2 separate regions of the Homo sapiens genome follow, and region 1 is linked to region 2. Evidence: promoter capture Hi-C in human tissues and cell types (Jung and others, 2019). All regions are on one chromosome and are shown on one strand. Each heading gives the region's core, a stretch centred on a gene start or on the middle of the fragment in contact. The rest is flanking DNA. Distances are from core to core; before and after follow the strand shown. Region 1 has its middle 13 kb from the start of MIR9902-1. Region 2 holds the start of HCAR1 (hydroxycarboxylic acid receptor 1).

Region 1 (3,100 bases), core at 370-2,869, 48 kb before region 2:
AAAAAAAAAGTGAATGTATTGCTTCTTGGCCTCTTGGCTAAGATGAAGTGTAGTATTTGCTTTTAGTAGTTGTCTGCTATGGTCTGAATCTGTCCCCTCTTCCTCCCAAATTTGAAATCCTAACCCCTTAAATGATAGGATTAGGAGGCAGGGACTTTGAGAGGCGATCGGGTCATCAGGGTGCAGCCCTTAGGAATGGGAGTCATGCCCTAATCAAAGAGGCCCCCAGAGAGCTCCCTTCTCCCTTGTGCTGTGTGGGGACACAGAGAGGAAATCTATGCATCAGGTGGCAGGTCCTCACCATCCTCCTCGGACGCTGAATCTGCTGCCGCCTTGATCTTGGACTTCCAGCCTCCACAACCATGGGAAATGAACTGTTGTTTGTAAGCCATGCAGCCCATGGTACCGTGTCATGGCAGCCCTGGTGGACTAAGACAATGTCCTCGGCTGAATTGTGATTGAGAGCTCAATGGTACAGTCCAGGGGGAGCTTTGTGGTGTTTTGGTTTCTCAAAGAACCACTTGGATCGCTAGGACTCCGGTCTGCATTTGAAGCCATCTCCTGCCCAAGGACACCTGGTCACCATGGCCAGCATGCAGCCAGACACCAGGGACCTCCCTGTGGCCACCAGAATTGGTGGATCCATCACTCATGGGGTTTCTCAGGCTTTGCTTTCGCAATTAGTTGGTTCTCCTCAATTGCATTCTGTTTCCCTCTGTTGGTAATAGAGGACTGACCACAGGCAGTGGTGATGACAGGGGAAGTCTTGGCTTAGCTCTTAGTGAGAGAGACATGCAGGGCATTGGCAGAAGTTCGAATTGGTGAGCCCAGCCTGTCCCTCTCAGACGCCTCCAGGCGTGTGTCTAAGAGAAAGTCTCCTGCATGTAAGAAAGTATTCTACAGGCAAACATGACCTTTTGTTTTGTTTTGTTTTGTTTTGTTTTGTTTTGTTTTGTTTTGTTTTTCATTTTGAGACAGAGTCTCACTCTGTCACCCAGGCTGGAGTGCAGTGGTGCAATCTTGGCTCACTGCAACCTCTGCCTCCTGGGTTCAAGCAATTCTTGTGCTCAGCTTCCTACGTGGCTGGGATTACAGGCGTGCACCACCACTCCTGGCTAATTTTTGTATTTTTAGTAGAGACAGAGTTTCGCCATGTTGGCCAGGCTGGTCTTGAAATCCTGACCTCAAGCGATCCACCTGCCTCAGTCTCCCAAAGTGCTGGGATTACAGGCGTGAGCCACCATGCCCAGCCCCAATTTTGCTTAAGGAGGAATTTTATAGTAGGTGAATTAATATCTCAATGGAAAAAAAATACCAGAAGTTTCAAGAGCTGAAATAGTCATAGGCCTCTCTCACTTTCTTTGGGTTCTCAGAACCCACCCAAAGAGTGGTCAAGCTAAAATTTCAACCCAGAGACATCTGATTCCAAAGGCCATTTTTCTTCACCTCTGCCAGCCAGAGAGTGAATGGTCATGTAGCCTGGGAGTGAAAGCCATGCTGGGGGGTTTGAACTTTTTGTTGTCGTTGATGATTGAAGGGTTTTGAGGCAGAAAAGAAACATAATTCAGTTTTTGTTTTAGAAAGATGGAGCTGGGCATGGTAGCTCATGCCTGTAATCCCAGAACTTTGGGAGCCCAGGACAGGGAGGATCACTTGAAGCCAGGAGCATGAGACCAGCCTGGGCAATACCGGGAGATCCCATCTCTTAGAAAAAATAAAAAAAGCAAAGAAAGATAATTCTTAGGAGCTTTATGTGAATATTCTTTATTAGACATAATAACAGATAATATTGAGGAGAGTTTTTTTCTGGGTTGGCTACAATAATTTTTGCAGTTTTGTTTAAAAATTTTTTGATACAGGCTGGGCACAGTGGCTCACACCTGTAATCCCAGCACTTTGGGAAGCCGAGGCAGGTGGATCACTTGAGGTCAGGAGTTTGAGACCAGTGCCTGTAATCCCAGCTACTCGGGAGGCTGAAGCAGGAGAATCACTTGAACCTAGGAGGCGGAGGTTGCAGTGAGCCGGGATCATGCCACTGCACTCCAGCCTGGGTGACAAAGCAAGACTCCGTCTAAAAAAAATGTTTTTTGGCTGGGCGCGGTGGCTCACGCCTGTAATCCCAGCACTTTGGGAGGCCGAGGCGAGCAGATCACGAGATCAAGAGATCAAGACCATCCTGGCTAACGTGATGAAACCCCAGGTATCTCTACTAAAAACACAAAAATTATGGCCGGGTGCAGTGTCTCACGCCTGTAATCCCAGGATTTTGGGAGGCCGAGGTGGGCAGATTACCTGAGGTCAGGAGTTCGAGACCAGCCTGACCAACATGGATAAACCCGATTTCTACTAAAAATACAAAATTAGCTGGGTGTGGTGGCGCATACCTGTAATCCCAGCTACTCGGGAGGCTGAGGCAGGAGAATCGCTTGAACCTGGGATGCAGTGAGCCAACCAAGATGGCACCACTGCACTCCAGGCTGGTGACAGAGCGAGACTCTGTCTCAAAAGAAAAAAAAAATTTTTTTTGATACAGCTCACGAACAGCAAGGCAAAATAAAAAATAATTTTTAAAAAAAGTTCAACTTTTTTTTGCAGGGGAGATAGGGTCTCACTCTGTCTCCCAGGCCGGAGTGCAGTGGTGCAATCATAGCTCACTGTATCCTTGACCTCCTGGGCTCAAGCAATCCTCCCACCTCAGTCTCTCAAAGTGTCGAGATTACAGGCGTGAGCCTGGCCTGAAATCTTGACTAAAATATCAGTGTTCAGCCTCTATGGGAACCCTAGAGACCAGTGCGATTTTTTTTTTTTATCTCATTCACTTTTTAAATTTTTTAATTATTTTATTTCATTTCATTTCATTGAGACAGGGTCTCACTGTCACCCAGGCTGGAGTGCAATCATAGCTAACTGCAGCCTTGACCTACCTCCCCACCATCACCTCAAGCGATCCTCCCATCTCAACCCCTCAAGTAGTTGGGACCACAGATGTGCACCACTATGCCCAGCTAATTTTGTTTTATTTTCAGAAGAGACAAGATCTCACTATATTGCTCAGGCTGGTTTCAAATGCCTGAGCTCAAGGGATCCTCCTGCCTTGGCC
Region 2 (3,132 bases), core at 354-2,853:
AGCACGAGTTAATTCTAAGTCACCACTCTATCTTCCTCAGTGTTGTTGGTCTGCTTGTTCAGTGCCACTCAACAATGTGGGGATCCCATTGCCCATCAGACTGGCTTTGGAAACTATTTGCCACACTGATGCAACTCCTGCGACCGAGGTTCGAAATTGGCATCTCTTCCGGCCTTTGTGTTTTTGAGTGTCCTGGCTGCTTGGGTTTCAGACTGCAGATTTTGAGCTTGTTGTAGAATTTGGGAAAGGAGGGGCTTGAAAAATAATACACCAGGGGATCCAGCATGCTGTTCATGTAGGTGAAGCTGAGGGTTATGTGCAGGGCCCCATGGACAGAGGGATCGCAGGCACTCGAGGGCACCGTCCAGAGGAAATAGAGTCTAGCAGACACGCTGGGCAGGTAGCATGTGATGAACACAATTGCCACCACCATGATGAACCGGGTCGCCTTCTTCATCCGAGCCTGTCTGGCCAGCTGCTGCCTCCGCCTCAGGCTCCAAACAATCTTGAAGGAGCAAAATAAGATGATGCCGAGGGGCATAAAGAACTCCAGCTGGAACATGATGTCATGCCAGCCATTGGCCGACTCCATGATGAAGCTCTCACAGGAGACGGCCGTCTCTTGCACGCAGAGATGGTTCTCCAGCAAAAGATACACTGTTCCCAGGATGACCAGGGCCCACAGGGTGCAGACGATGCCAGCCGCCACCCGGGTGGAGATAGTGTTCACCGCGTGGTGGGGGTGGACCACTTTGAAATACCTGTCCGCAGCCACCACCGTAAGGAACACGATGCTCCCGGCCCTGTTCATGGCCAACGTGAAGAGCCCCACTCGGCAGGGAATGTCCCCAAAAGCCCAGTGTCTACGTCTGAGGTAATAGTCTGTCCGAAAAGGCAGGCAGATCATAAGGAGGAAATCAGCCACGGCCAAATTGAAAAGGTAAACAGTGCTGGGCTTCCAGGTCTTCATGTGGAAGCAGAAACCACACAGGGCGACCCCATTGCCTAGTGCGCCCAGCACAAAGGCCACAATGAGCAGCGGCGGCATCACCTGGGAGATGGTGTCCCCCTCGATGCGGCAGCACGACCCGTTGTACATGGCGGGGACAGAGCAAGTGTCCGGGTGCAGAGCAGCCCAGGGAGTCCCCACAATGGCACAGATGCTTATCTGAGCGTTAGCACTCACCCAGCTGCTGCGTGTCTGACTTCATCACCCAGGATGCGGGTCCTGTGTGTGTGGGTTGGATGCTGCCACAGCAGCGAGAAGAGAAACTTCAGCCAGGAAATGAGAGACCCAGGGAGGTCCTTTCTCTGGAGCCCGTCTCACAAGCCGCCTGCCTCTGGGAGAGGCCAAGCCTGGAGCCGGATGAAGCTTGGAAATGCATGCAATTTTGCAAAAGTGGTCATTTCTGAGAGGCGGTAGGGTGGGGGGGTCCGATGAGATTGATGCCGTAGAGGAGCGATTGGGTCCAGCGCCAGAGTAATTTTCATTTTCAGCTTCGCTGTTCCTCCTCGGACTCCGTGCTGGAGAGCACACAAAGCTGCCCAGAAGGCAAGAAGAAAGCTTGTTTGTCCTCCCTCCTGGTGGAGAAATCCAAACATTTCCTGGAGTGGTTCTGGGCTCCTGCCTTTGCTTTCCTCCCGTAACCTTTGCCTGACTGCCTTGTCCTCTCCCTCATCCCACGGGGCACTCCCATGCGGTGCCAGAGAGGGGAGGCTTTGCTCTGCAGCTCCTCCGGGCCATTTCCTGTGCCGAAAAATACCGCGCTCAAAAATTGGAGGAGTCTGCGGAGAGAAAAGTTCTAATCACGATACTTGATGGATGTTAGAAAAATTCTTTGACGGGAGTCACCTTTCCCCCGCTCTATTCCCACCTCCCTGCCCTTTACATCCTTCCGTGAACCAAAGTGGCCAGTTGCACAACCACCAAGACCATGAAATAGATCTGAAGCCCACTTCTCATATGTCTGTCTCCACAAAACGGCCTCTTTGGGAGCCGGTTTCCCCCTCTGCTGGGAAGCAGAGCCTAGAACTTTTACAAAGATTTGGCCCTGAGTTTCCATTGGCTGTTGAATGAGCCAAACACCATGAGATGTACGTTTTTAATTTCAATTATGTGCTGAGCCCATCAATTAAAACTGCCCCCTGGGGGCGGAAGAGGATTGGAGGAGTTGATTAAGGAGTCCATCTCTAAAGCAATCATGAGTAACATTAGACTGCACAAAAAATTGGAGTCTTTGCTAAAATTTCCTGTCCTTTGGCTTTAAGGATTATTAATCTGCCCTGTGCCTTTCAGCTTCCAGTTTAGAAAATGGGGTGGAGGCCGGGCGCGGTGGCTCACGCTTGTAATCCAAGCACTTTGGTAGGCCCAGGCGGGCGGATCACCAGGTCAGGAGATGGAGACCATCCTGGCTAACACGGTAAAACCCCGTCTCTACTAAAAATACAAAAAAATGAGCCAGGCGTGGTGGCGGGCGCCTGTAGTCCCAGCTACTCGGGAGGCTGAGGCAGGAGAATGGCGTGAACCCGGGAGGCAGAGCTTGCAGGGAGCCAAGATTGCGCCACTGCACTCCAGTCTGGGTGACAGAACCAGACTCCGTCTAAAACAAACAAACAAACAAACAAACAAAACAACAAGAAAAAGAAAAAGAAAAAAGAAAGAAAGAAGAAAATGGGGTGGAGGCCAGTCGCGGTGGCTCACATCTATAATCCCAGCACTTTGGGAGGCCGAGGCAGGTGGATGACTTGAGGTCAGGAGTACAAGACCAGCCTTGCCAACATGGTGAAACCCCATCTCTACTAAAAATATACAAAAATCAGTCAGGTGTTGTGGCATGTGTCTGTAATCCCAGTTACTCAGGAGGCTGAGGCAGGAGAATCACTTGAACCCGGGAGGTGGAGGTTGCAGTGAGCCGAGATCGTGCCAATGAACTCCAGCCTGGGTGACAGAAAGAAACTCTGTCTCAAAAAAAAAAAATGGGGCGGAAAAGAGGGGGTGCATTGAAAGAATGTGTCTGTCTTCTAGATGCACACTGAAGCTAAATTCTTCCCACTGGATGCTGGACTCCAAATCTGTCCACCCACATTCTCCCCTGCCTCGCCCTAGCACAGACCGCAGTCACTTCCCACCTG

The links. Contacts are between HindIII fragments. The study calls those that stand out against the background at their distance.
Region 1: a fragment that was not itself captured here is called in contact with the fragment with the promoter of HCAR1 in region 2 in 2 of the 25 tissues and cell types used here (bladder and liver).

Annotation. Positions count from the first base shown.
Region 1 is chr12:122,681,268-122,684,367 of GRCh38, forward strand. It overlaps the pseudogene LOC124903124. Among named protein-coding and RNA genes, the nearest start is that of MIR9902-1, 13 kb to the right of the region's middle. The HindIII fragment of the contact is 5,388 bases long and covers 1-3,100 here.
Region 2 is chr12:122,729,241-122,732,372 of GRCh38, forward strand. It overlaps HCAR1 (hydroxycarboxylic acid receptor 1), which reads right to left and starts at 1,604. Exons shown (of 1, transcript NM_032554.4): 1 at 1-1,604. The coding sequence starts at 1,099. The coding sequence ends at 59. RefSeq lists an enhancer at 366-1,033. The HindIII fragment of the contact is 12,382 bases long and covers 1-3,132 here.